Regions from separate parts of the Homo sapiens genome. Here all the other regions are linked to region 1. The links are contacts of gene promoters, found by promoter capture Hi-C in blood cells and fetal thymus (Javierre and others, 2016). All regions are on one chromosome and are shown on one strand. The core of a region is centred on a gene start or on the middle of the fragment in contact, and the rest is flanking DNA. Distances in the headings are between cores, read along the strand shown.

What was found. Contacts are between HindIII fragments. The CHiCAGO score rates a contact against its expected background, and 5 or more counts as called.
Region 2: a fragment that was not itself captured here is called in contact with the fragment with the promoter of BDH2 in region 1 in 15 of 17 cell types (total B cells, M2 macrophages, naive B cells and 12 more); the score reaches 10.5 in total B cells.
Region 3: a contact is called between a fragment that was not itself captured here and the fragment with the promoter of BDH2 in region 1, in 1 of 17 cell types (total B cells). The highest score is 5.3, in total B cells.

What each region holds. Positions count from the first base shown.
Region 1 is chr4:103,098,539-103,102,000 of GRCh38, reverse strand. BDH2 (3-hydroxybutyrate dehydrogenase 2) reads left to right here and starts at 2,167. Exons shown (of 10, transcript NM_020139.4): 1 at 2,167-2,218. The HindIII fragment of the contact is 3,413 bases long and covers 1-3,050 here.
Region 2 is chr4:102,576,386-102,579,704 of GRCh38, reverse strand. It overlaps NFKB1 (nuclear factor kappa B subunit 1), which reads right to left. Exons shown (of 24, transcript NM_003998.4): 7 at 2,666-2,829; 8 at 666-824. Among named protein-coding and RNA genes, the nearest start is that of NFKB1-AS1, 76 kb to the right of the region's middle. The HindIII fragment of the contact is 3,879 bases long and covers 1-3,319 here.
Region 3 is chr4:102,555,623-102,558,859 of GRCh38, reverse strand. The region is part of intron 5 of NFKB1 (nuclear factor kappa B subunit 1); the gene reads right to left. Among named protein-coding and RNA genes, the nearest start is that of NFKB1-AS1, 55 kb to the right of the region's middle. The HindIII fragment of the contact is 5,146 bases long and covers 1-3,237 here.

The DNA.
Region 1 (3,462 bases), core at 918-3,417:
AGAAACACTCAGAGATGTCCCAGAAATAATGCTTACCAGCTCTCTGGGGATCCGTAAATCCAGTCAAGTTGACACCTAAAATTAATTATCACAAACATTGTCTTGAGAGCCTGGCAGAATTATATTCAGGAAACTTATTAAGAAACTGCCATTCACTCAGCAAATATTTAATGAGCATCTACTATCTGCCAATTACTGTTTTAGGCACTGAAAGGCACTACCAATGTGGAACTCATATTGTAGATAAGAAAACAAGTAACTAATACTCTTTTAATACGAGCTAATCACAATGTAAAGGTGTAAAACATAGTCCCCACCCTTGAAGAAATTTAGTCTGCTGAGAATACTAATGGGTAAGCAAGTATTTGCAATACCATGTGACTTAGGCTGTTATCAAGTAAGCATTGTTGCTGAAGATTACAGAGGGATGCTGAAGAAAGCTACATCAAGAAGCATTGGAGTTGGCTTTGATTAGAGAACTCTCATAAAGTCTGTTCCAAAAGCCTCAAAAGTCAAAGGGCATTATTAGTAAAGCAGGAACAAAGCTAGATGTGATTACAGATTGTTAGAGCCAGCATTAGAAGTTGCTGAAACAATGAACAAGGAGGGACAATTTTACCATAGACCTCATATAGACACATGCAGAAACTAAGTCCAGTTTTTAAAAGAACATTAAAAAGCGCAACTTTTACCATCCATTATAATTAAATTTCTCCAACAATGTCTTCATCATAAGAATCACTAACATGTATTAAGCACCTGTGTGGCAAACATTGTGCTGATGGATTCACAGGCTTAGTCGTTCCTCCTCACCACATCCCTGAGGTAGGTGCTATTTTACCTTCATTTTACAGATGAGAAACATAAGAGGTTCAGAGATTTAAGTGATTTACTCACTTAGCTAGTGAGAGAGAGATATGGGACTTGCTCTAGTCTTACTGACGCCACAGTCTTTGTTCTTATCCCCTGTGACTGTTAGAAATCACTTAGCTCCATGTAACAAAAAACGTGAAAAACACTAAAGTTTATTGTCCTCACATAAGAAGTCCAGAGGAGTTGTTGCCTTGAGGCTGTCATCAGGGCCGCAGGCTCCTTCTCTTGCTGGTCCCTGTCGTTAATGTGTGCCTCTGGCCTCAGATGAACTCACTAAATGGCTGCTCTGTCCCACGGCATCCTATCTTCATTCCAGGCAAAAAGAAAGGGAGGAGCAAAAGCTAAAAGCCTTTCAGAAGGGCTTACTTTTCTATTTAAGAAGGAGGCCCTCCTCAGAAATTCCCACCTGCATTTCATTGGCAACATCTATGCTGCTTGGCCACCCCTAGCAGCAAACAAGGCTATGAAGTAGAGACTTTTGTTTTCCAGCTTTGACAAGTGAAAAAAGGGGAAAGTGAGTTGGATGGGTGCTGAGGAAACCAATTTATACAGTACATGTACAAGTAGCCTACACAATCACTCTGCTCACTGGCACTACAGATAAAGCACATGTTGCTATCCTAACCTAGAGGGCTCATGAGATCTAGTCCTTTCTTTTTGACCTTATATCTCTGTTCTCTTCAGCCAAACTGGGGTTTTTCGCTGTTAACATGTTCCCTTTTAAGCCTCCACCCTGTCATCCAAGTTTCACGTTCTCCCCAACCCCATTCCCAGTGTAGTAAAAGGCTCCTGGCATTCTGCCACTAAATGTGCATTAGTGTTAGAATATTCTGAGCATGAAAAAATAAAAATCACAACTGTATCTCAAACAAAAAGGATTTTTTTTTTTATTTCTCTCCCTTAAAACAATCCAGGCCAAGTGACAGGAAGGCTCCAGAATTTTCAGTGACCTGGGTTCCCTCTATTTTGTTGCTCTGCTATCTTCCACACGCAGTTTCCAGCTCAGCCAATCTCGTCTACCCTGGCACCGCATATAGTAGGCATAAACAAAACAGAGAAGTGGAGAGACTGAAGTGAAGGAAATGATTTCCGCATCCTAAGTAAGCTCTAAGGTGCTTTTCCACTTTTCACCTTCCACTTGGAATTCATAGTTCTACCTGAATTCCACTAGATGGCAGCACATACATTTATAAAGTGTATGGATGGAGCCACTAAACTCTGAAAGCAGGGAAACTACAAATCCCAGCATGCATTATTAAGCGCTTGACTTGCTTCCAGACAAAGGTTGTCTCAAGTTTGTTGCTCAAACCGAGTTCTGGAGAACGCCATCAGCTCGCTGCTTAAAGTAAGATTTCCTAATACTTTTGAAATGAAACTTTAGAACGGAAAGAGGGGAGGTTTAATTTTTAGATGTTGTTTTTTTCTGCACGTTGCCTGTTTCAAAATTAATCTGAGCAGTTAGATCAGTGTAAAGATGGGTTTTTAAAGAGCCTGAAACTCTGTGGTATGTATGTTTTATAAAGTAGCCCAAGAAAAAAGGATTCTTACGGTATCCTAAGTGAAGAGTTTTCTTCCTGGCTCTTGAAAACAATGGCTTCCTGAATATGCTGTTTGTGTCTCTGCTAATCAAAAATCAACATTTTGATTCTAACTTTTGGACTAAGGAAGCCAACATGTATGGTTTTCACATTGGATATATTGAGAGGTGCCTTGTTTTACCATTTCAGGCCGTGTTTGCTCTCATTTTCTCAAAGAAATCTGTTTTAGTTTGAGATTACAGTTTATCAAATGTTAAGGCTTTGACCCCAAAATCTGGTCCCAGAAAGACAGGAAGGCCAGCTAAGAGGAGGTTTTCAGAGTGCATAGAAAGGCTGCTCTGTGCTTCGGCATTTGTTCTGGAAGTGCTTCTTCGGTTGGCAAAGATTCCTAGCAAAACCTTTGACTGGAGGCTTTACAGGGCCATACACCCAATATCACTAATGACAGTGTTGTAAAATAGCTTTTGTGCACCATGCTTAGGATTCAAGGAGGATAAAGTATATCTTTCTAAAGTTATACTTTAGAAACTGTCATTCCATGTTGAAATGATAAACATTCCATGTTTATCTTTTGTGTAAGAAGTAAAAAAGCAAAAATTCATTGCATCAAAGTAGGTCAGGCACTGTTAAAGCCAAGCTTCCCCATCGCCTAAAAAATGTGGACAAACTCAGAGGAAGTCAGTGATTATAAGCTGATCCCTGGAGCCAGTTCTTACATAATTGTGTTAGTCTGCTCCTCCAAGAAGCAGACTCCAAGATAGAATTAAATATGCATGGATTTTATTAGGGGAAATGCTGTTGTGAGAGAGAATGAGGAGAGAACTAGGTAAGGCTGTGAGAGCCATCAGACCTCGATGCAAGTCCACCCGCGAGGGAGGAAAAGAAGGAAACCAGGTTGAGTGGAAGCATCCCAGACAGCTGTGCAGTCTAAGAGAACTTCAGCAAGGTAATAAGGAGCTTCTCTAGCCAGTCATCCGTTGGGGAGGAGGTCTATGTCTCCCAGAAATGAGTCTGCCTTAGTAAGCATGCATGCTCAGGCACTGGCTTGTAA
Region 2 (3,319 bases), core at 409-2,908, 520 kb after region 1:
CTTAAAAAGTCCTAGGAACTATAAATTAATATATATATACATATATATATATATATATTTTTTTTTTTGAGATGGGGTCTCATTATGTTGCTCATGCTGGGCTGAAACTCCATATCCTCCCACCTCAGCCTCCCAAGTAGGTGAGACTACAGGGCATGACGCCAAACCCGGCTTGAAATAGGATTTTGAAGTCACATGCTGTCTATGCTACTCATTCATTTAACTTCAAGTTTCTCTCTTGATAAAGCTAGTAACATATGGGAAAGAAAATGGGTAAGAATAATAGTTGTCTTTTATAAACTCCTTTCCAGAGTCCCCCCACCACCAAAGAAAATTGGGATTATTCTCCCTTCTAAAAGTATCAACCATATATCTTTATAGCAAGACATTCATAAATAAGATGAGATGTGACATTTCATGTAAAAGACTAAAAAATGTACATCAAAGGAAAAAGAATTACATGTATTGAGCCCCTCTTAAAATACCTCATTTAACCTGGACATCAACCTTTCAAGCTAGATTTTCCTATTCACATTTTACAGATGATAAAGCTGAGGCTTAAAGTGATTAAGTTACCTTCCCCAGGACTCAGCTAGCAAGTAAATGGCAGGGCAGGGCTGGAAGTCTATTCTTGGTGTGCCCCCTGTTGGAAGTGAAGTACTCACTACTGTCATAGATGGCGTCTGATACCACGGGTTCCAGGCGCCTTGTGAAGCTGCCAGTGCTATCCGGAAGAAAAGCTGTAAACATGAGCCGCACCACGCTGAGGTCCATCTCCTTGGTCTGCTGCAGAGCTGCTTGGCGGATTAGCTCTTTTTCCCGATCTAGGGCCATACAGCACAGTCCATTCATGCCCAGGGAAGTGTGAACATTTAAAAGACCATGCTTTTATAAAGCCCAAATAATGTAAACTTACAATAAAAACCCATTTTTCCTCTTTTGAAACTCTTCATATTGCTAATAAAGTGTTAAAAACAGTCTCATTTATGTCATCCAATATGAAAGGCATCAAAGAAGACCTGCATTTTCTCCGGATTACAGTAAAAACTCTCTTCCGTGTATCAGATCGCCTCCCTCCTCTCCTGTCCTTCCCCCACCTTTCCCTTTCCTCTCTACAGTAAGAGTTAAAGGCACACAGGATGTGATGGAATGGAATTGAATAACCCTACTAGGCACCAGCTGTATTGAGAAGTGTGCAAATTATTCCAAGAGCTGCTTGGGCACAGGGAGTGAGCTCATTCCACAGTGCCAAGCAGACAGCCTGGCACATAGTAGGTACTCAAAAACAACTTCTGAAGGAACTGAATGACTCAGGGACATCTGTTTCCTTCCCTCCTGCTGGAGTTTTCACGCTGATGGATATAGTCATAATTAAGCTATAATATCATAAAAGGTAGTGATTCAAGAGACAAGTACTACAAGAGAGCTACAAATGAAGTGATGTGGGATTTCAAAGAAGGAGAGAGTTCAGAGGGCTTTGGAGCAGAAGAGGTATTTGCTCTGAATATTGAAAAGGTGGCAGAATTTGAACACATTCATATAAGAGAGTGGATAAAGGCATTCCAGGAAGAGGAGAGAGCAAAAATAGAAAGAATGTGCCAAGGCAGGAAAGTGAGAAATCATGGTGCTCCTACCAAGTAGTAGACTTTGACCTGAAGGGGCAAAACGGGAAATAGATTGGAAATGCAGCCTGAGGCCAGCTCTTGGGAGATCCAAAAAGCCAACTTACAGAATTTGGATTTTGTAGGCAAAACGGAGACACGGAGCAGCAACAAGATACAGAACTTCAGTAATATCTATCTGGCTACAAGATGTAAACTTGATTAGAAGTGGGGAGGGACAGAGACCAGGGAGAAGACTACTATAAGTGGAACAATGAAAATGGAATGTAGTGTGGAATGCCAGAGAGCACGGAATGGCTGGACCACAGCCTCGCAGCACAGGCGAGGAGGGGGAGTCAGTGAGGATGGGAAGGTTTTGAGTCTGGGTATCAGAAGATGGAGTATATTTAGTGGAAAACTGATAATCGGTTTTGAATCACATGAGTATCAGATGACGACTGGACGGCCAGAGTAAAGGACAAAATACAAAAGTAGAAATGGGGCATGTGGTGGGACAGGGAATGGGGTTGAAAAAAAAATTTGAGAAAAGGCAAGAAAATGGAAAATCATACAATTTTTATGATAAAGATAATAGTTTATAATGTGTCTGCAGAGCCCAAAGAAAGAAAAATGCCTTATAATAAGGTGAGTTGGGGAAGGTAAAACAGAGGTGTTCTTTAGACAAAGTCTTGATTTCTGCATTGGTTTTCGAGAGGGTGAAATGGAAACGGTGGGGTGTTTTTGGTAAAGGAAGACACATACAAAGGTATAAATATGCCTCAGTTATTCAGAGAGCAGAGATGGCAAGAGGAGGATGCAAGGTGGGCTGGAGATGAGGCTGAAAGTTGCTGGGGCCAGAGAAGCAGGGCTTTGTATGACAGGCTATGGAGCTATAGTTTTTATCCTAGAAGTAGCAGGATGCCATCAAAGGTTTCTGAGCAAGGAAAAGGTGACAGCAGTGTGGGGTAGAGACTGGAAGGGATGCAGATGAACATATAATTCATACAGATGAAAACCAAAGCCTGGACCCCTTGGAGGATCAAGGCCAGGAAAATGATGCTTACCTCCCAGCTGCCGGTCCCCTCCACCTTCTGCTTGCAAATAGGCAAGGTCAGGGTGCACCAAGAGTCCAGGATTATAGCCCCTTATACACGCCTCTGTCATTCGTGCTTCCAGTGTTTCAAATACTTTTTTCTTTGTCACATGAAGTATACCCAGGTTTGCGAAGCTGGAGAAAAAACAGTAACAGCAGCAGCAACAACAACCAAAAGTTAGGCACTTAATGTCTAGGGAATCTGGCTTCACTTGTAAATTAAAAAAAAATACACAGGCCCTCAATGCTTTATACAAATCTCTTGGGGCTACATGCATTTCAGAATTTAGGGTATTTTTGATGTTAAAAAGGCAATATATGGCCTATACTGCATATTACATAATACTCTAAGCAGGTCTGGGGCACACAATGTAGTCAAACACGTTAGTATTTCCTCAGCGAAATATATAATTGGACTCACCAAATGGAAAAATAAAGACTATAAACAGCTACACATCAGGTCAGATTGGTTTTTACTACCAAATGAGTCTGCAATAAACTTGGAAGAATGTTTTGGTTTTCAGAGCTTATTTGACTTCCAAATTTGATTACGGGAGTGGGAGCATATGTGTCTATATGTCTTAATGAGGAAGTCTTACCGGGTTCATTTTAAAGTATTTTCTAT
Region 3 (3,237 bases), core at 703-3,202, 540 kb after region 1:
TTACTGCCTCTCTTCTCCATTAGGATGGAGGCTCAGAGTGGGGAAGCTGGGTGTGGTAGTGTGCACCTGTAGTTCCGGCTACTTGGGAGACTGAGGTAGGAGTGTCCTTTGAGCCCAGAAGTTCAAGGTGGCATTGGGCTATGATCGCACCACTGCACTCCAGCCTGGGCAACAGGGTGAGACCCTGTCTCTTAAAAAAATGGAATAAAAACAGTGAGGATATTGATTTATTCTCTGCTGTATCCTCAGTGCTTGAAATAATGCTTGTCATATTGTGGGCATTCAATAATTAATACACTAATGAATGCATAATTAAGACAGGATAAAATGTTATTTATGGAAGGCAATTACTAAAATATAAAGGGTTGGGTTAGGTGGCAGGTAGTGGGTGAGGAGTGGAGATAACTGTACTCTTTTTTTTGTTATTTTGTCTTTTAAAAAATGGCCAATTGAATACTATGCAGAAATGAAAAAGAACAAGATCATGTCCTTTGCAGGGACATGGATGGAGCTGGAGGTCATTATCCTTAGCAAACTAACACGAGAACAGAAAACCCATTATTACAGATACTGCATATTCTCACTTATAAGTGGGAGCTAAATGATGAGAACACATTGCCACATAGAGGGAAACAACACACACTGGGGCCTATCAAAGGGTGGAGGGTGGGAGGACAGACAGGACCAGGAAAAAGAACTAACAGATATTAGGCTTAATACCTGAGTGATGAAATAATTAGTACAACAAACCCCCATGACACGTCTACCTATGTAACAAACCTGCACATCCTGCACATAAAACTTAAAAGTAAAAAAAAAAAAAAAAAAGGCTAGATATCAATGTAGCATCTCAATAGGCTATTTAAATTAGAATATGATTATTACACACCAGAGCAGAACACTGGTCTAAATTGGAGGCAGGGTTTCTGGCTGGGGGCTCTGGTTGCTGCACTGGCCCTACAGTATCTGGTAAAAAGGAATCTAACCACTAAGAGGTAGGAATTCTGCCAGCTGTGAGAAAGTGAAGGGAGGGCAACTCTCGAATAATCATCCTTCGAAAACTAAGGCAGCAGTTCTTCCCTCAAATTCCAAGACACCCCCTTGTACTTCTCTTTTCCCACCCTAACTGCTATTGCCCATTAGGCATTCTCTCTTGTACTGATGAGTCTTGGCACCAGACTCAGATATTTCCTCTATGCTTCATTTTGTTGTTTCCCTCAGGGATCCAGGATTTGCATTTCTGGTCCATCTCAATTTCACTGTCTGTTATTCCTCAAATGAGAGGGCCCTTCTTTGATATTCACTGTGGTGATGGATAGGAACAACTACCCCACAGGACTTTATCAGGGGTAGTCCTGATAGTAGTGCAGGGGTACACCTCCAAGATCTCAAACTAGTGGAGTATGTTTCAATAAAGAGCACAGGCTTTGGAGTAAGACATAGCTGGCTCTGAATCTGGGCTCCCATGACCATCTGGGGGACTCTGGGAGAGTTACTTAACTTTTTTACTTGCTTTCTCATTTGTAGAATGTGAATACAAATATATAATCTCTAAGTTTTCTGAGGATTAAAGGAGGTAAAGTGTCTAGTACAGTTTTTGCTATATCAAAACCACAAAATAAATGACAGCAATTCTTATTTCTCTCTTCCTACCTTAAGCAGATATCTGCAGTTGAGATTCTCTCTTGACTTTAATGAGAAGGTAGAAGTCACTGCGTGCAAGTTCCTTCACTCTCTCTTCTCCTTACTGTCACTGAGGCTCAAAACATCCCTGTTACTTCACATATCCTCTCCTAATTCAGAGAAACATGTTTGTTCCCTTTTCCAGGGCTAACCATTCTGTTTTTACCCTTAATGTTTATTCCTGATCTTCTTGAATTACCCTTCTCTTTCTCTCTTCCAAAGGATTTTTTCCCTTGTCTACAGATGAGCACTGCTTTTCTTCCTTATTCTAAAAAAAAGCCCCTTCTGGATAATGATGATGACAACTGTAAAGGTTAACATTAATTGAAACCTATGGGCTGGGCATGATACCAAGAAATACTGAACGATTCTTTCATTTGCTCTTCTCTACAATCCAATGAGAAAGGTTCTTAAGAGGAACTTAAACCTGTTTGAATGCCATTCTATTTCTCCCTACAAAGTACATAAGAAAATCTCTAATTACTAATGCTGAACCATTACCACTTAATCTGAGGCCCTTTGCAAATGTAAGTAATCCCCCGATCCATCAAATGAAAAAGTGTGTAAAGGTCATGACAGATTCCATGTTTCCAAACCCACTAGCCATTTATTATTCCTCAACCCTACTTGACCTCTTTGGGAATGGGATATGTTACCATTCCCTCCTTGAAAGTCTCCCCCAACTCCCCATTTCACTGGCTGCTTTTGCTAAGGCACTCTTCTTCCTGCTCAAAGAGATGTTTCAGCAGAGATCGATGCTCAGTCCATTTCTCACCTTTATCGTGATCACTCCCTTGACATTCTTATCAAGTCTCCTGGATTGAATTGTCTACTCCATGCAGATGATGGCTAAATTGAAATCTCATGTTCTCATCTTCTTTTTAAGCATGTGCAAAATTTCCAGCTGTTTGTAGGGTATCTTCCTGTCCATAATACCGTTACAGCTCAATGTGCCCAAAACTGAACTAATCACCTTTCTTCTCAAAGCTACTCCACCTCCTGGAAATGGAAATACAAATGCTGCCTTCTAAAAAAGTGCAGCAAAATCGTCTTTTCATCTTGGATTCCTCTCTGTCTCTTGTCTTTTATGTTTAACCAGTTGCCAAACTTCAGCTGAGTACCACCCCAAAAATCTCAGTTTGTCCCTTTCTTCCATTCTCATTCCTTAGTTTATCTATCTTAGCTTGAACTCTTAGTTTAGCTCATGAAGAATCACTGCAATTCTTCCAACTAGTGTCTCTGGGCCTTTCCCTTCCAATATCAGTTAGCAGATTGCTACCAGATTTGTAGTCCTAAAGCACAATGCTGCTGATAATTTCTCATTCCTATATAAAATTTCTATAGCTTACCCATTTTCTAAAAACATACAGTTTAAATCCTTGCATGATTTGGCCTTATCTACTATCTCCAGCCTTCTTACCACCCTTGCCTTCCACGTGCTCTTCATTCCAGCAAATTATTTACTATTCTCCATTCGATCTCAGAGATTTCTACTTTTGAGCCTTTGCTGCTTTTTCTGCTGTGCTGTTTTCTCTCGTTAGATCTATGCTTTCA